Regions from separate parts of the Homo sapiens genome. Here all the other regions are linked to region 5. Evidence: promoter capture Hi-C in 16 types of primary human blood cells and fetal thymus (Javierre and others, 2016). All regions are on one chromosome and are shown on one strand. The core of a region is centred on a gene start or on the middle of the fragment in contact, and the rest is flanking DNA. Distances in the headings are between cores, read along the strand shown. Region 1 overlaps FBXL14 (F-box and leucine rich repeat protein 14). Region 2 overlaps LOC105369594 (a long non-coding RNA gene). Region 3 overlaps FBXL14 (F-box and leucine rich repeat protein 14). Region 4 has its middle 9.3 kb from the start of B4GALNT3. Region 5 holds the start of ERC1 (ELKS/RAB6-interacting/CAST family member 1).

What was found. The method cuts DNA at HindIII sites, captures the fragments that hold promoters and counts their contacts. A CHiCAGO score of 5 or more calls a contact.
Region 1: a contact is called between a fragment that was not itself captured here and the fragment with the promoter of ERC1 in region 5, in 17 of 17 cell types (endothelial precursors, fetal thymus, megakaryocytes and 14 more). The highest score is 14.9, in endothelial precursors.
Region 2: a contact is called between a fragment that was not itself captured here and the fragment with the promoter of ERC1 in region 5, in 1 of 17 cell types (activated CD4 T cells). The highest score is 5.2, in activated CD4 T cells.
Region 3: a contact is called between a fragment that was not itself captured here and the fragment with the promoter of ERC1 in region 5, in 1 of 17 cell types (endothelial precursors). The highest score is 5.6, in endothelial precursors.
Region 4: a fragment that was not itself captured here is called in contact with the fragment with the promoter of ERC1 in region 5 in 2 of 17 cell types (activated CD4 T cells and naive CD4 T cells); the score reaches 6.1 in activated CD4 T cells.

Annotation. Positions count from the first base shown.
Region 1 is chr12:1,585,711-1,589,599 of GRCh38, reverse strand. The region is part of intron 1 of FBXL14 (F-box and leucine rich repeat protein 14); the gene reads left to right. Among named protein-coding and RNA genes, the nearest start is that of FBXL14, 6.9 kb to the left of the region's middle. RefSeq lists an enhancer at 1,099-1,758. The HindIII fragment of the contact is 1,540 bases long and covers 627-2,166 here.
Region 2 is chr12:394,045-397,807 of GRCh38, reverse strand. The region is part of intron 2 of LOC105369594 (a long non-coding RNA gene); the gene reads left to right. It also overlaps a transcript of CCDC77 not described here. Among named protein-coding and RNA genes, the nearest start is that of CCDC77, 5.7 kb to the left of the region's middle. The HindIII fragment of the contact is 9,606 bases long and covers 1-3,763 here.
Region 3 is chr12:1,570,357-1,574,016 of GRCh38, reverse strand. All of the region lies in intron 1 of FBXL14 (F-box and leucine rich repeat protein 14), which reads left to right. Among named protein-coding and RNA genes, the nearest start is that of FBXL14, 22 kb to the left of the region's middle. The HindIII fragment of the contact is 3,380 bases long and covers 666-3,660 here.
Region 4 is chr12:448,680-452,632 of GRCh38, reverse strand. No RefSeq gene overlaps it. Among named protein-coding and RNA genes, the nearest start is that of B4GALNT3, 9.3 kb to the left of the region's middle. The HindIII fragment of the contact is 235 bases long and covers 1,925-2,159 here.
Region 5 is chr12:989,371-992,911 of GRCh38, reverse strand. ERC1 (ELKS/RAB6-interacting/CAST family member 1) reads right to left here and starts at 1,689. Exons shown (of 19, transcript NM_178040.4): 1 at 1,590-1,689. It also overlaps a transcript of RAD52 not described here. RefSeq lists silencers at 875-1,169, 1,375-1,884, 1,905-2,014, 2,425-2,474 and enhancers at 1,173-1,734, 2,296-2,858. The HindIII fragment of the contact is 9,168 bases long and covers 1-3,541 here.

The DNA.
Region 1 (3,889 bases), core at 147-2,646, 600 kb before region 5:
ATCCCTGTTTTCCAGATAAGTCATAATTCCTGCCGTAAGTTACCCAACCAGTAAGTGAGGGAGCCAGGATTCAAACCTAGGCTCCATTTCTCCATTTCCCTCCCTCCCTCCCTCCCTTCCTTCCTGTCTTCCTGCCTTCCTGTCTTTTTTTTTTTTTTTTTTTGAGACAAGGTCTTGATCTTTTTTTTTTTTTTTTTTTTTTGAGACAAGGTCTTGATCTGTTGCCTAGGCAGGAGTGCAGTGGTACAATCACAACCCACTGCAGCCTTGACTTCCCAGGTTCAAGTGATCCTCCCACCTAGCCTCCTGAGTAGCTGAGACTACAGGCGCACACCACCATGGCTGGCTATTTTTTTTTTTTTTTGTATTTTTTTTGTAGAAACAGGGTTTCACCATGTTGCCCAGGCTGGTCTCAAACTCCTGGGCTCAAGCGATCTGCCCACCTCGGCCTCCCAAAGTCCTGGGATTACAGGCGTGAGCCACTCTGCGTGGCCCAGGCTCCATTTCTAAAGTCCAGCTCCCTTCTGCTTGATGAGAAGATTTAGTTACTCGTCATACCTTGGTTTCCAGTAAGGTGACCCTCATAGAAGTGAACGGTAGCTGTTTGAACACCGTATGAACAAGCTTATGCCATAGGGCAGTACTTCAAAGGGAATAGGGGTGACTCTTGGTGGTATGAAAAGTTGATCCCCGCCATACCTACAGGAATGGGAGAAATGCATTGAAGAATAGAAGAGCTAAAGGACATGAATTGATAGTACACTTTGCGTGGTGGTACAAAAGTTAAAAGGCACTCCAGGGCAGTTCTTAGAATAACAGAAAAAAACTTGGTTCAGGTATTTGCTGAAACTTGAGAACTGAAAAAACATAATGTAAACTTCGTGTAAACCTTATCATCTAGAAGTAATAAACCTCAACAGAAACTGGGTAGTAGTCAAGGAACAGCTTCATTTCCCTTCTTTTTCTAAGTGTCATTGTGTGTAGCCCTTCAATGTTCTTACTGGAAAGATTATCTATAAATCACCTGTGGGGCTCAGCCAATTTCTGCAGCTCCCAAGCTAGGCCCCTAACTTGTCCAACTTAACATTTACTAAAACTAAAAGCCAGTACCAGTATATCCTAAAAATAAACTCGAACCGATCATGTTCTTTCATGAGTCAGATGAACAACAAAGATGTAAAAAAGCAAACGTTCCTTTTTCTTTTGAAAGGTATGAACTTTCTCTTACATAAGGACATATGATATGTAAATTAAAGCATGGCCTAGCTCCCAAATCCTGCTGCTTTCCTGAAGTGGTTACTAGATAGGTGCTGGTCTTAGAATACAAACAAAACCTTTCACTTTTGACTTAGAGAATTCGAATTCAAGTTTTCAAAGGGAAAGGGTAGTGGCCCCCAGGGACCACTGTGTTTCTAAAGAATAAGAACCTCTTGATTAAAAGATCAGATTTGTAAAACAAAACCAAGACCTCATGCAGCTTCTGACAACTGTCTCTTCCCAGTTCTATGAAAGGGAAAGCCCTGGCCTCTGATCTCTGCTGTGTTCTGCGGTAGAAAGGGAGGGACTATAGTAAGTCATCTAGTGGTCCCCTCTCTCTGTTCTCTTTCTCTTCCCTGCATCAAACATCACCCCTTTTAAAAGTTAATTCCATCCCTTTAGTAGAGGGCAAGACCTAAATTTTGTGCCATTATGAACCCCTGAGGAGTCAGAGGGGTGAGGCTTTTTGATGAAATAATGTGGATCATGAGTAAAGCACAGCATTAGAAATTAGAAAGCTGCATTCAAACCTAAGCTCAGACTTGGGTCACATACTTACCTCATTTCTGTCAATGCACTTGGTTAACTATCAGGCAGCAAGTTAAATTTTTTAAAAAGTTGTAAAACAGATGGGACATGCATATTTAGATCAGTGCCAAATATTAATAATTTACTTAATGAAGTATCAAAGGTAAGTGCACAGTTGGAACAAGAGCATATATCTCAGCTCTTGTATGGAATTTCTAGACAATTGGTAAATTTAAATGTCCACAAATGATCAGTTTCAGTTTTTTCCTCTTTTCCAGGGATTGCTCTGATTTTGCCTGCTGGAGTTGCCTTTACCAACCCAGAATATTTGGTCGTATGTAAAGCCAAGCCCTCCAGTTGAGGTGCAAAAGAAAGTAAGCTTGAGATCTTAACTGAGCAGCACCAGAGTGGGGTATGTTAAACCCCCACTCCCAATAAAACAATCGAAGTGGAATTCCTCTGCCTGCTATTTATTAACCCAGAAAAGTGCACATATTTTCTTTAAAAAGAAGACTTAAGTTTCTATTATTTCATTACTCTTCTACTTCAATTTTTTTTTTTTTTTTTTTTTGAGACGGAGACGGAGTTTCACTCTTGTTGTCCAGGCTGCAGTGCAATGGCACGATCTTGGCTCCCTGCAACCTCCGCCTCCCAGGTTCAAGTGATTCTCCTGCCCCAGTCTCCTGAGTAGCTGGGATTACAGGCGTGTGCCACCACGCCCGGCTAATTTTGTATCTTTGGTAGAGACGGGGTTTCTCCATGTTGGTCAGGCTGGTCTCAAACTCCCGACCTCAAGTGATCCGCCCGCCTCGGCCTCCCAAAGTGCTGGGATTACAGGCATGAGCCACCGCGCCCGGCCACTTTAGTTGTTTAAGGAACAAATGCTTTATATCCTTATAAAAAACTTACAAGGATACTTGCATTTGTGATAGTGGAAACAAATGAGTCTCAATTACAAAGAAGAGAACTGGGTCTGCAGCCGTGGCGCAGCAGAGAAACCCAAGTGAGACCAGGTCAGGAATGTGAGTGTGATCTGTGGAAGAACTCAGTCATAACACAATGTTCGGTTTCTCTGTCTCAACATTTTTGTTTTCCCAAATCTGGCAGATGTGGTACATTTAATTTTATAAATGGGAAAAGATGCTTAACAAAGTGGAAAAGATTTTGCCTAGGTAATTAGAGGAGAACCTAGTGTCAGAACCTGGGCTGCTCTAGACTTAATGACCAATGCAGAAGGTGACCAGCATGGAGGCGGCTCACAGGGGCACTGCAAAGCACCACCCTGTCTCTCTTCAGAGATGTGTGGCACCAAGCCAGGCACGGCACACATCTGTAGTCCCAGCTACTCACTCGGCTGAGGTGGGAGGATCACTTGAACACACGAGTTCAAGACCAGCCTGGGCGACACAGCAAAACCCCATCTCTTAAAAAAATTATTATTTTTTGTCTTTTTTTTGAGACAGAGTCTCGCTCTGTTGCCCAGGCTGGAGTGCAGTGGCATGATCAGAGCTCACTACAATCTCGGACTTCTGGGCTCAAGGGATCTTTCTACCTCAGCCTTAAAAAAAAGTTTCTTAAAAGGTGCCACACCAAAGCATATTATTTTCATTAGGAGTAAAAAAAAAAAAAAAACCCCAAATGCTAAAAGTTATTACTATTTAATATGCACTACCTTATGCAAACTTAGACATGTTTGCAAGCATTATATAGGGTTATTCAGGAAACCAAAAAACTAGTACATGTTGTTAAATGGTCTATAAGGTACTGAAGTAGCTAACTGTCAAATCTGTTGCCTGTTGCTCTCAGAGGATTTGAGCCAGTTTCCAAAACACTGCTTTGTTGCACATAGTAATGCAGAATACTAATGCTGGAAGTACATGCTCATGAGAGCTTCAAAGCTAGGAACTCACACATATTTCACATGCTATAAATACCTGCCACACAATCCTTTTATAAAGTAGAATCAAGTTGCAAAAACTCTAGCTATTTTCTCTTCATTCAAGGGCAAAAAGGCTTGACTTCACAGATGTTTTAGTTACAAATCCCACTTGTCCAGAAAGAGTAAAAGGGTCTAATTTGTTAATACTAGGCACCTTCTTATATT
Region 2 (3,763 bases), core at 87-2,586, 590 kb after region 5:
GGGCGTGGTGGCGGGCGCCTGTAGTCCCAGCTGCTCGGGAGGCTGAGGCAGGAGAATCACTTGAACCCAGGAGGCAGAGGCTGCAGTGAGCTGAGATCGCGCCACTGCACTCCAGCCTGGGTGACAGAGCAAGACTCTGTCTCAAAAAAAAAAAGCATTTTAAATTAAGGCATGTAAATTTTTTTAAAGAAATAATGCAAACTAGAAATAATGCACTAGACTACAGTATCGTGTAAACACATAGCTTTTTTTATGTACCAGGAAACCGAAAATTTCGAGCAATTTGCTTTATGGTGATATTCACTTTATTATGGTGGTCTGGAACTGAACCTGCAATATCTCCAAGTTATGCCTGTACTCCCAAACCTGCTTTTTTCTCCCTTGTGATTTTCTCTGTTAATTACATTAATATCTTCCCAAACATCTCGGCTCGGTATCTTTTGTCTATTTCCTTTCTTTTAGCCCCTGCAATTTTTAAAAAATCAAGTCATGGTGAGCCTGTCTTCATATATATCTTCCTATTTATTTCCACTATGTGTCTTATTACCTTTCACTTGGTCTATTACCATAGGCTTCTAACTGGGTGTTCTTGCCTCCAATCCATTCTATAAAAGGTGATTTTTGTCCAGGCTGGTCTTGAACTCCTGACCTCGTGATCCACCCGCCTCAGCCTCCCAAAGTGGTGGGATTACAGGCATGAGCCCCATCTCTAGTAAAAATACAAAAATTAGCTGGGTGTGGTTACATGTGGCACATGCCTGTAATCCCAGCTACTCAGGAGGCTGAGGCAGGCGAATTGCTTGAACTCAGGAAGTGGAGGTTGCAGTGAGCTGAGATCACGCTGTTGCACTCCAGCCTGGGTGACAGAGCGAGACTCTGTCTCCAAAAAATTCAATTCCGGGTCTGTCACACTCCTGCTTATAAACTTTGATGACTCCCCACAGACTAGAGAATGAAGTTCAGACAGTAGTATGGCATTCAAAGACTGCAGCTATCTGACCCCATTTGTCTCTATTAGAAGAAATTGATGTGGTCATCTCCTGAACACAGGACGCACTTTCCAGCTTCAGTTCACACTCTTCCTTTTATCTGGATTGGCCCTTTCAGTGCATCTTCACTCAAAATTCTTACGAGAGCCAACTCAAATACTACCACTTTTGTAAAATCTTGACTTATCTCCCTAATTGGAAATACAGTTGTCCCTTGCTCAGTATCTGCTAGGGATTGGTGCCAGGCAATTCCTGGGTACCAAAAGGCATAGATGCTCAAGTCCCTTACATAAATGGCATATTATTTGCATATGACCTATGCACACCCTCCCGTATACTTCAAAACATCTATAGATTACTTATAATACCTAATACAATTTAAACAGTTGTTTTTCTTCCTTTTCCTTTTTTATTTATTTATTTTTTCAAGAGGGAGTCTTGCTCTGTCCCGCAGGCTGGAGTGCAGTGGCATAATCTCAGCTCACTGCCACCTCCGCCTCCCAGGTTCAAGCGATTCTCTGGGCTCAGCCTCCCAAGTAGCTGGGATTACAGGCACCCACCACCACACCTGGCTAATTTTTGTATTTTTAGTAGAGATGGGGTTTCACCATGTTGGCCAGGCTGGTCTCGAACTCCTGACCTCAGGTGATCTGCCCGCCTTGGCCTCCCAAAGTGCTGGGATTATAGGCGTGAGCCACCTCGCCTGGCCAGTGTATTGACTTTTTTAAATTTCAAAATGTATTTATTTTCTTTTATTTTTTATTTTTTAGAGACAAGGTCTTGCTGTGTTGCTCAGACTGGACTCAAACCCCTGGGCTCAAGCAATCCTCCTGACTCAACCTCCTGAATAGCTGGGATTACAGATGCATGCCACTGCACTTGATTTACTGTATTGTTTTATATTTTTTATTTATTTATTTATTTTGAGACAGAGTCTCACTCTGTCGCCCAGGCTGGAGTGCAGTAGTGTGATCTCAGCCCACTGCAACCTCTGCCTTCTGAGTTCAAGCGATTCTCTTGCCTTAGCCTCCCAAGTGGCTGGGACTACAGGCATGCACCACGACGCCCAGCCAATTTTTGTATTTTTAGTAGAGATGGGGCTTCGCCATGTTGGCCACTCTGGTGTCGAACTCCTGACCTCAAGCAATCTACCCACCTCGGCCTCCCAGAGTTCTGGGATTACAGGCGTGAGCCAGCACACTCGGCCTGTACTGTTTTTTAATCTGTATTATTTTTATTATTTATTATTATTTTTATTGTTTTTTTTTCCAAATATTTTCTGTAGTTGGTTGGGTTCGTAGATACGGACTCTCTAAATGAGGAACCCACATATATGGAAGGCTAGCTGTAATCCCTCCTGATTGGATATTCATTTAGCAATTTGTCCTTTTATTTTTATAAAGTAGCCTCTATTCAAATGTCACCAATCTGGCTGGGTGCAGTGGCTCATGCCTGTAATTCCAGCACTTCGGGAGGCCAAGGCAATAGGATTGCTTGAGCTTAGTAGTTTGAAACCAACCTGGGAAATACAGCCAGACCCTCTCTCTATAGAAAATAGAAAAATAAAACAAAATTACCCAGACGTGGTGGCACACACCTGTAGTCCTAGCTACTCAGGAGGCTGAGGGAGGAGGATCGCTTCAGCCCAGAAGTTTGAGGTTACAGTGAGCCAAGATAATGCCATTGCACTCCAACCTAAGTGAGACAGAATGAAACCGTGCCTCAGAAAACTAAGAACAAAAAACAAATGTCACCAATCTGTGAGCCCTTTGATGATCACCCAAGCCCCCTTACTTTCTCCACTTTAAAAAAATCTTATCATCACTAAAATAGTATATATTTATTAGCTTGTGCTTATTCTTTTGTCTTCCCTTTCTACTAGTGAGCTGTATGAGAGCCGATACTTTGTCTTTTTTTGTTGTTCACTGTCATATATCCAGCATCTGGAAGAGTGCCTGGCACATAGAGATGTGGAATAAATGTTGAATGCATGTATAATCCTCCTCCCTACAGGTGTGCTGCCTCCCCCCATTAGATTGCTTTTCTTCCATTCTATATCTAAATTAATGCATCATCATTCATTACAATGCCAAAGAGTCATTCTCCAATTCATCACTCTCTCGCAATCACACAACATCAAATAGATAATTTTTAAAAATCACACTGGTGGCAAAGGATCAAACAAGAACAATGCTTGAAGGTCATTGGAATGCCACAGTGGAAATTCGTATGAGAGAAAGGGCCTAAACAAGAGCAGCATTGACCGTGGTAATACTAAGATGCTATTTGCCATGTTCACTTTGACATTTGCATGGATGGTACAAAAGCAACAGTGGGTAAAACGCTGGTCCCTCAGCATGAATCATGGTAGTGACACCAAACCATACTTGGAGTCTTTGCCTTCATTACATAGATTTCACTGGGGAAAGCCAGTGTCATTTAAGAATGCCCTTCATAAAGGAGTAAAAATTATTAACTGTGATAAATCTGGACCTTTAAATATGTCTTTTGTCTGTGCGATGAAGTAAGAAGAACACATAACGCACTCAGTTGCATACAGAGGGTTTTCTCGAGGAAATAATACCAGCTCAACTAGCCACTTTTTTCACAGAACACCAGAAGGACTAACAGACAAACTATGGTTGTTCAGACTTAGATACGGCAGATCTTTTCTTGAAAATGAACAAAGTGAGTCAATCTCTTCAATGAAAACAACTAATGGTATTTGTTGGCAATAATAAAATTTGAGCTTTCAAGTGAAAATTATAATTTTG
Region 3 (3,660 bases), core at 1,106-3,605, 580 kb before region 5:
TTCTTTTTTTTGAGACGGAGTTTCGCTCTTGTTGCCCAGGCTGGAGTGCAATGGTGCGATCTCAGCTCACCAAAACCTCCACCTCCCAGGTTCAAGCGATTCTCCTGCCTCAGCTTCCTGAGTAGCTGGGATTACAGGCATGCGCCACCACGCCCAGCTAATTGTGTTATTTGTAGTAGAGACAAGGTTTCTCCATGTTGGTCAGGCTGGTCTCAAACTCTTGACCTCAGGTGATCCGCCCGCCTTGGCCTCCCAAAGTGTTGGGATTACAGGTGTGAGCCACCAGGCCCGGCCTCATTTCACTCTTCTGTGCACTTATGTATGTTGTACCCATGGACATAGAATGTTCTTCCCTCTCTGTTTGACTGGAGAACTCTTCCTCACCCTTTAAGTCCTGGCTTGAATGAACACTGTGCAGCCTCCCATTGCTATCTCTGTGCCCCTCAGCTGCCTGAGCCTCCGGTATCGGCACTTCTGGCCCCGCAATGTTACATCCTCTTTACATCACTGCTGTCCCTAGAAGGACCCCCTAGTCGTGCGTGGCTGGGGTGGCATTCAGCTGACAAGGTTGAACGTATGTGCTGAGCTTCTACGAGGCACCCTGTCCTGTGATAGGGGCTGAGGATACAGCAAAGAACAGACCTTAGTTCCAGCCTAACAAAGCTTACAGTATTGTGGAGAAGACAGACAAAAAATGTAACACCAGATACTAACGTAACCCAAATCAGGAGGCCCTGACCTGGTCTAGGGGTCAGAGAATGCCTCCCAGACAGTACTGGCATTTACCTTTGCATTTCTAGCACAGCGCCTTGCACTCTGGAAGGCTCTGAGTCAGTTTTCTTAGGTGAAGTGTCACTCAAATGCTAAAGACCCTCAAATATTCAGCCCAGACCCCTGGACCCACAGACCCAACTATTAGACATCTCTTACTAGTGTATCCCACAGACATAGGAGCCCAAAATTAAACATATTTCCTCCTAAATCACTCTACCTACCCAGATTTACGGCCTCCATAAAAGGCACTGCCTGGCTGACCACACAATCAGCCTGGAAGTTATGAATAACTCTTCTCTCTCTTATTACATCCTGTGCCCAAAGGATTGTCCCAGCTCTGTTGATTCCGCCTTCTGGATTCTGACCGCATTATTTCCTCTCCATCCCCCCTCCACCGCCACTGCCCTAAGTCAGTCCTCATCACTTCTCATTTTGACCATTTTGACCCAGGTCCCAGGAGTGATTTTTCTAATGTACAAATCTGATTCTATCACTTCCCGGTCACAATCTCCAGTGGGCTCCTTCTTGCCAATAGGTTAAAATCTAAATTCTGCTGCACGCTGTCCGGGATCCTCGATAACCTGGCCCTGCCTTCCTCTCCACTGCCCCCCCGCTTCCCCGACCTGTATGTGCGTCAGGACTGAACCTCTGCAGTCACGATTTCTCCAATGATAGACCACGGCCTCTCTGGGAATGGGGCGGGCCCCCTGGACCTGGGTCTACTAGCATATGGACTCAGACCTAAAGATCAGGGTGCCTGGTGCATCTTACTTGGTAACAAAAAAAGCCAAATCAAAATGTTCTTGTGTTGAAAGGGGCACATTATCTGCACTAAAACATACCCTGCATCCAGTTGCAAACGTACAGTAGGAAACTCTTGGGAGCCAAGAAGTGTCCTGTATTGTGACTGTGGTGCTGGTTTCATGGGGTTATGCATCTGTCAAAACACACCGTATCGTGCACTTTGAGTGCAGTTTGTTGTACATAAATTATACCTCATAAAGTTATTTAAAAAGTTCCCTCTGTCAACACTAGCTTGCATGGATTGTCATACTGTCACCTAAAATGCTCTATCCTTGCCTATCTGCATGTAAATCCTACTTTTTTTTTCACTGCCCCCAAAGCCTTTCCTGACTCCCCCACGTAAACGTGACTGCCACTTCTCTTGTTTCTCATAGTTTCAGTCATCCCTCCCCATCCTTGGTGGTGAAGCCTCCTAATTCCCTTGGTGGGAATTTGTAGTTAAGGAACTTAACACTTCATAGAAATAACAGGCTATGGGTGGTGAGGTCTCCAGGGACTAGAGCACAGAACTGTCTTCATTCTGGTACTCCCTGCACCCAGGAAAGTGCTGGGTATAGAGTAGGTGTTCAATCAATATTTGAGGAACAAGGAGATGGGAAGATCTGGAGTTGATACACTCAGTACATTAGGCTTAGCTGATTCTTACTTGAGGAAGACAGACTGAGCTATTAGTAGTGACTTCAAATGGGATAGGGACAATCTTGCAGTAACCTTGCTGGTGAGAAATCTAGGAAAACCCCAGCATCTGTTAAAAAGTCGCTCTTTGATAACTGCTGTGTCCCCGTCCCAAGGTAATCATTTTAAAGTCAAATAAAAAACATGTATGATTTGGATATTTCAAGTCTCTTTTTCAAAAGCACTATCTCTGTTTATGAAACTGATGAGCTGTGTTGCTTAAGCTCTGCTAACTAAGAAAGTAGTGTTTTACACTGGCTGGGCGCGGTGGCTCACTCCTGTAATCCCAGCACTTTGGGAGGCTGAGGCAGGCGGATCACCTGAGGTCAGGAGTTCGAGACCAGCCTGACCAACATGGAGAAACCCCGTCTCTACTAAAAATACAAAATTAGCCGGGTGTGGTGGCGCATGCCTGTAATCCCAGCCACTCGAGAGGCTGAGGCAGGAGAATCGCTTGAACCTGGGAGGCAGAGGTTGCAGTGAGCTGAGATCATGCCATTGCACTCCAGCCTGGCCAACAAGAGCAAAAACTCTGTCTCAAAAAAACAAAACAAACAAACAAAAAAAACCCCACCAGAAAAAAGAAACTGTTTTACACCTACTGCCATGCAATAGCATGCTTTTGATACATGAGTATATGTATAAAGTATAAGATATATACAAGATTCTAAAATAGTGGCTGAAGGACCATGCAATCAGGCAGTCATAGCAATGACCGATTATTAGTGATAAACACATGCCACACAGAGAAAGGACTATGGACAATAATGGCCTATTTAACCTACCACTGTCCTGCAGCAACCGCTCATCTGGAGGAGCAGCAGACAAGGGTAGATGGAGCTGCATTACATGGCGACACTAGGCAGCTTGGTCTACACCATCACTGCTCCTCCCATCATGACCACACCACCTGGGAGGACCACCAAAGGGAAAAAGATCAAGAGAGGCCGAGGAGAATTACTACCGCTTGGTCTCGATGGTCACGTCATCAAAGATTCATTCATTGACTATTCAGTGTATGTTCTGACTAAGATGGGCAAAAGTGATCGAGACACTTGGGTTCCGTTCTGCTTTGCTCACTTAGTCCTTAACTTGACTGCCCTTCCCCTGCCTCACTTTTTTCACTTGCAAAACCAGACAAAATGCTAGACATTCTACTCACCATCAGACCCAGGAGAGCCTACAGGGAACCCCACGGCGTGAAATCAGCGTCAGCTCAGCAGGCAGGTATTCCAGGCAGAGCACACAGCCATGCCCACCCACATTTCCCACCTTCACCCTTCAGGCACGAGACCCCACCTTCTGACCACCAGCTCCTGCACTTTTTTTGCGGAGCCCTCTTGCCCACCCCGGTAGGAAGGAGATGCCAGAGATGAGTGCTCCCTGTGACAGCCCTCAACCAGGGAC
Region 4 (3,953 bases), core at 793-3,292, 540 kb after region 5:
TTGCCACCTACACGGTGTGTGGGGTGGTAGAGGGTGGTCAAGACGTGTATTTGTTTTGTTTTGTTATGTGTTTTTTTAATCTGTCATCCAGGCTGGAGTGCAGTGGCACAATCTATGGCTCATTCCCGCCTCAGCCTCTTGAGTGGCTGGGACTGCAAGCATGTACCACCATGCCTGGCTTTTTTCTTTTTTTCTTTTTTTTTCGAGACAGGTCCTGCTCTGTCACCCAGGCTGGAGTGCAGTGGCGCAATCTTGGCTCACTGCAACCTCTGCCTTCCGGGTTCAAGCAATTCTCGTGCCTCAGCCTCCCGAGTAGCTGGGACTACAGGTGTGCGTCACCACACCTGGCTAATTTTTGTATTTTTAGTAGAAACGGGGTTTCGCCATGTTGGCCAGGTTGGTCTCAAACTTCTGGCCTCAAGTGATCTGCCCACCTCCCAAAGTGCTGGAATTATAGATGTGAGACACCGTGCCCAGCCCTTGGCTAAATTTTTTAACTTTAATTTTTTGTTGAGATGGGCTATGTTGCCCAAGCTGGTTTCAAACTCCTGGGCTCAAGCAATTCTCCCACATCAGCTTCCCAAAGTGCTAGGATTACAGGCATGAGCCACTGCACCCCACCAAGGCAGAAGAATCTTTTAGAAGCTCCAGGGCACTGAGCTTATGCCTGTAATCCCAACACTTTAGGAGGCTGAGATGGGATGACTGCTTGAGCCCAGAAGGTGGAGTCTGCAATGAGCAGTGATCTGCACTGCATTCTAGCCTGGGTGACGGAGTGAGACCCTATATCTAAAATTAAATACATAACAAATATTCTTCTGCCTTTATGAGGATTCTGCTCTTCAGCCAGGCATCTTACCCTCAAAAGGGGGCTGTCAGAGCAGGCCAGTGGGAGATGTGCATGGTAAAGCCTTGCATTGTGTTATCCCATGTGTTATCCAGGTGTTTATAGGAGACATTTCACACTCTGAATTTTCCTTCAGTGAATTTACAAAGTGACCTCAGAGACTTCACATCAGTCTCTGAATTATTTTTTTAATCTAGGTCAGATGTCCTTTGCTCCACATTTTCAGATCACCGTGTTATCTCAGCTTTCTAGGCTGAATACATTGCTTTCAGGAAGGTTTTCCCTTAAATGCCATAGTATTCTCGAGGGAGATTTCTGCAGCCTTTAAAGACCTGTAGAAAAGGAAACCCCCAGCATTCTCACCATAGGGGAGAGTCATAGGTGGCATCACAGAGAGGAATGCCAACACCTCAGGAGAGGATGTGGGTGTCTTGTGAAGAGAGCCCGAGTCAGAACTCCTGGAAACACTAACACTGGTGGGACAAGCAGAAGCAGAATCAGTGACCAGGAGCAGGCAAGTGCACCAGGTGCAGAAGTCAGACTAGGACAGAGACCTAGGAAGCAGGGAGAGCCAGAGGCAGTGCCAGTGCATGCGTGGGCAGGCAGCAGGCTCATGATCAGCGCTTAGGAGGCAAGGGCAGGAGACTGGGTGGGAAGCACCCCGATAGGAGAGGGGTGAGGGGAGTTAGAGGGCGGCTTAGTCCGACTGACTCAAGGTGAAATATAGAATCTAGCCTGGTGCCATGCCTCACACCTGTAATCCTGGCACTTTGGGAGGCTGAAGCAGGAAAATCACTTGAGGCCAAGAGTTTGAGACCAGCCTGGTCAATATAGTGAGACTCCATCTCTATGTAAAATTTTAAAATAAATAAAGAAATAAAAGTGGTGGGGGGAAGAAATACTGAATCTCAAAGATGAGGACAAAGTAGTCAGGCTTCAGGAAATGAGCAGAGAATACGTAGAGAAAGAAGAGTTTCCTAAGGTCATTTTTTGGGGGGAAGGAGTTCATTGCTTTGACAGAAACAAGCAAGAGAACCTGTTTGCACACCGAGAACACAGCTATTTTCCACAGAAGCTTATCAGGTGCTGGCCCAGCCTAGGGAGTGACACAAGAGATAAGGCTAGGGTAAGGAACCGCCTCTCTAAGTAAAAAGAAAAACCCAGGCACACCAGTTCAATCTGCACTGATTACTGAGCTTTGGGCCAAATGAAATCTCACCAAAATGTGCATGACAATACTACTTAGGCTCATTCCTATTTGGGATCCCTCTACTTAATATTTAATTATCCTTCCCAAATGCCAAGGCAAGCTTGCCAATTAAGAGGCTCTGGAAGAGTCAACACAAGCAATATTGAAATTGTTCATTTAAAATCGCACTGCTGTTGTTAAATGCTGTTGTGAGCCAAAAGGGAAGGAAAATGTCACAAGTCAACACAAGGCTAATCACAAACATTGTGGTCCAATCCAGAATTACCAGGACTCACTAGCTGCAGACTAGTCAAAAAGCAGTGAGTCAATGATTGGAGATAAACTGGGCAAAATGTGCATAAAATCACTGTATTATTTCTTAGAACTGCATGCGAATGTACAATTATCTAAAAAATAGAAAGATGAGCTGAATCATCGAGGAGAATAAATATTTGTCCAAACTGAAAAAAAACCATATTTGGCAGCAACTCAAGATGCATCTATTATAATGACATACATATATGACATATATGTAGATATGAGTCTATTCTGTTCATGTGTCAACACAACACAATTTATTTATTATTTGTATATTTTATTTTTTATTTTTTTAGAGATGGGGTTTCACTCTGTAGCCCTGGCTAGAGTGCAGTAGCCTGATCATAGCTCACTGTAGCCTCGACCTCCTGGGCTCAAGCGATCCCCCAGCCTCAGCCTCCCAAGTAGCTGGGGCTATAGGCGTGCACCACCACACCCAGCTAATTTTTTCTATGTTTTGTAGAGATGGAGTCCCACTATGTTCCTAGGCTGGTCTCAAACTCCTGGCCTCAAATGATCCTCCTGCCGTGACCTCCCAAAATGCTGGAATTACAGGCGTAAGCCACTGTGCCAGTCTTAATTTTTTAAAAAATAGACTGGCTGGCTCAGTTTGAAAAAAAGAGGTCATGCAGCTGAAGAGGCAAAGAGAAAGAGAGCTAATATCTGCAAACAAAAGAAATCATAGCTGCCACTTGGAGGTTGAGCTCCCAGAAGGCTGTTCTGGCAAGGATGGTGGTTTCTCAGTGACAATCTGATCCACAGTCTCCCACATAGGCACCTGCATTCACTTACGATGTGAATATTCTCATCTAGTAGTTTCCCCCAAGAAGGGCATCATCTCCAAAATGAGGGATTTCCTACACACAAGAACACGGGTGCACTGTGATGTCATCATAAATGTGAGGCAATTAAGTAATTAATCTCCAGAAGTCTAGGTTGTGTTCACAGTTGCTTTTTGTATGGCTAACTTGAAAATAAGCTACCAAGTAGTCCAGGAGTGGAATATTTCACAGCTTAAGCCGATAAAGCAATGTTTTCACGTAGAGATTTAAAGCCCCCTTTCAAAATGTTTTCTTTGCAAGGCCTCCCTTCACTTTGCAGCCAAACCCTCCTTCCAGCTCTATCTCTTCACCTGCCTTTTTTTCTGCTGGTCTGCCTATTCTAGATCTTTTTTGGCTCTGTGCCCTTACCTACTTAGGAAGTTAGAAGGGCAGATGAAGCAGACTATGACTTGCTGCGATTCTAGGCATTTTCTCCCTGGCAGGCAGTTCAACTCAATAAATCGTCCATCAAGAGCTACTCCTAATGAGTCTATCACTTGTCTCTTGTCAGCTCCCTCCAATCTTTCCAACATTCACTTTCTCCTCAAGCTCCCCATCACATCTATACCCTATCTCACTTTCAGTGGAGGGTTTAACTTTATTTCCTCTGTGAAAACAGGGTACTTGCCCCTTTAGAGTTATTATACCAACTCATCTGCTTTTACTGCACCCGTCAGTACCAGCGCTCATTCCCCCAGCATCTTACTTAGAAACACCTCTCACTCTTCCATCTTCAGTTCCTTCCTCTGGCCTTTCCCTTTCAGTCTGTGAATATGGT
Region 5 (3,541 bases), core at 440-2,939:
GGAAAGTCACTGCTTAAATCCCACTTTCTGACAGCTTCTCTTCCTCCATAAATGAATTATTGAGAGCCATGTCTACTTCCATCCATTACATAATACATGTCCATCATGGGACCTGTTTTCTGAACAAGAAATAGCTTAAATGACACTAACTGATAAGTAGGGCCAGAGAATACTGTAATCTAACAGGGAGCAAGAATCCAGAAAAGAAGATTCTGATTTACAGTGCTAAGTTGTGAAAGAGTGATGTGAAGAACATTGAACACTGCTTACTCTAATATTTCCATACAAAGTGACACACCTGCCCCCAAAATGTTTTTAAAGCACTTGACTCCAAGAACATTTCTCAGAAATTGAGGAGCCTACCAAAAAAAAAGAGTTCCATTTCATTTTAAAGTGTTTTAATAAAGACTGCAAGAAACATAACTGCAAATGAGAAATAAAATTTCAACAATTTAGCACTGAACACAAAATGTCTAAAAGTCAAGGTGTACTGAGCAAGCAACACGCTATAAAAGACGGTTGTACTTTAAAACATTTAAGCATTTTTCATATAATTAGCTCCAACAGAACTATTCCAATTGTTCACTTTATCCACCCAAAGCAGTCAACCACAACCACCTGCAACTATTATTCAGCAATGTGCCTTCCAAAGCAACCACCTGAGTTTGGGGCCTTCTCTCAAGGGGCCAGGATAAAGCCTGTAAAAGGGTGGTATAAAGAGATCTTTTAGGCATTGGGGGGAAAAAAAACTGGAAGACACCACCTTGAAGGAGCTAAGCGTAATGCGACCCAAATGGTGGCTGCCGGAACGAAGTTGTCTAAACCGAAGATCTCCCTCTTCTTCGGTGTAAAACTTTCAGATACATCCACGCTCACAATTTACCTGAGCCAAAGTAAGGGGATTCTCTTCCCTCTCCGACCCCCCACCCACCCCGCCAGAAGAAAAAGAATCGAACCCTAAAGTAGAAACGTGAGATCTAGTGCAATAAAATAGGTTCTGCAACTGCCTCAAAGGCAACATGCACAGCTCATCGTCCTTTTGAAATACACTTCATCTTTTATCTCACCATTTCATCGAAAAGAAAAGAATCATCTTCAGCATTTTACATCACTCACCTAACCCAAAGATCCACCCTGACCGCACCCCAACCTCATGGCTCCCCAATTTCTCCGTCTCCCCACTACCTCGTCCGCGGCTTCACTAGTCCTAAGCCTCCCCCCCTCCGCTCCCCAAGTGCCCAGAGCCCCAGTCCCCACTCCCCCACCTCCCGCCCCAGGATCCCCACATCTACCGCCTCGGCTCCCGCCCGATCCCGGAGCCCGGCTGGGTGGAGCCCGCGGGTGGGCGCCGGTGGTCTGGGTGGGGCCCGCCCCTCCCCACCCCCCGGGCTGCCGAGGAGGGGGAGGGGGTCGCGAAGCCTCACCTACAGCTCCGCCCCTCCCCGGGGGCGCGTTGCCCTGCCCAGCCCAGCCCGGGCCGTGAGCAAGAAGCTGGGTAGGAAAGGCGAAAGCCTCAGCACTAGCGACAGGGGGGAAGCTCTGGGTCCCGCGCGACTTCCGCGCTGTCGCCGCCGCCGCGGCCGTCTCACCGTCCTCAGGGCTGCCGCTACTGCTGCTGCTGCCGCCCAGGCACCGCCGCCGCCGCCACTACCGCCGCCGCCGCCGCCACAGCACGGCCCAGGCGCCCGCGACGTCACCGCGCCCCGCCCCCTGCGCGAGACACCTAGCCCCGCCCCCAGCCCCGCCGCGGGGCGCAGCGCGCCTCCCCGGGCTCCCGGCTCGGCTGCCTCCCTTTCCCTCAGCCTCCCGGGAGCGTGACGCGGCGGCCCGGGGGCCTCCGGGCGCCTTCCGGGGCACGCGGGTGAGGAACTGGGAAGCGGGGGAAATCGGCGCCACGGCGGTCGATTAGCACCGAAACAGAGTGATGGGCGCGGAGCGTCCCTGCACACACACACACACTCACACACACACACACACGACCCCTGCGGCCACGGGAGGGGAGAGCCGGGGTCGGCTCCGCGAGCGCAGGGTGGCGCTTGTCTCCTCCTGCTTGCCGTAGGAAGTGGACGCTGGAAGCCCGAGGAGCCGCTTCGTGTCTTCCCAAACCTAAGCGGCGCCCCACCCCCTACTTCTCGTGGCCCGTTACGCCCGGGGCAGCCAAGCGCCGCGGGAGCAGCGCCGGGATCGACCCTGGCTGCTGGGGGGACGCTTTGTCCCAAGAAAGCTGGTTTTTTGCCCCTTAGCTTCGTGGAACGCGGCCGCGAAATTAGTGGTCTTCTGACCTGAGACTCGCGGGGCTGCGCACACGGGCATCGCCGAGGACCCCAGCAATGGACGTCGTGTCTGTGGTGATCCCGCCAGGACGCGGGGAGCGTGGGCGGAAATTAGTGTCCACGTTCCGACCCTGCGCTGTGCCAAACGCTGCTTCGGGAGCTGTTTATTTAGCCTCCGACAGCTAAGCGAATCGGCGGGCGGCTGGGGCCTGGTGCAACCCGATTTTCTCGTGCAGACTCGCAGCCGGCTTTGGTTTTGTTTTTTGTTTTTTGTTTTTTTTTTGGAGCCATGCAGAGGGTAGCTACAGCCATTAATTTAAGGATGTAGATAAGCTATCTCTAAACCAAGAAAGTAAGAATGGTGTGAATTATATTTATTCCCAGCCTTCCAGTGTTTATTAAAATAATTTTCGGTGTCCTTGAGAGGAGTTAAAAGCCATCATTTTACTCCTGCTTACCTCCGCCACCGTAATTAACCACTTTATACTGCCTCATAATCCCATTAACAAATTGCAGTCGCTCCTCAGCCTTCACATTCATTCACTCACCAGTTTCTACTGTTTCATCCTGCCCGGACTCTTAACTGTTCCCTCCCAGGATCGACATGCACTTGGATCATTGCAGTTTCTGGGCCTGCTGTCATCTCCCCCTTCAGTACTTCCCACATATGACTACCAACTGTTAGACGATGTGCTGCTGCCAGACCAGCCTTTCATTTCTTGGACATCCGGCTATTTACCCAGGAAAAGTCATCCTTTGACTATTTTTCATGACCTTTCTCATCTGACTCGTGATCTGCCCATCTTGTTACTCCCTAGCAGTGTGGTAAGGTAAGAGAAAATTCAACTAGGAGTCAATAGATATTTCTGTTCTCATTCTCCCACTGTCTACTTGTGTGGCCTCAGGCAATTCATTCTACTTGTGGTCTTACTTAACTGTAAAGTGAGGTTTGAAGTAGGTGTCTGAGATACATCATGTCCTTAAAATATGTGGATCTGGAGAATTAAGTTGCTAAGCGCTATGTTATACACGGAAATACTGTCCTAACACAGATTCAGATTTTTGTTTTTTATTTTTTGCCACCACACTGGCAAAAAATATTATTTCCTGCCCTGCTCCAGTTATCTTTTTTAAAACCTACGTTTAGGATTTTTGATTAAAGCTAGCTAACCGAGCACATGTATTTACTGTCTCTTCTTCCTGAGACCCCATAAAATGATGATAAATAAAAGTGATACAAAATAGAAAATGAGAAGGGGGACATCGGA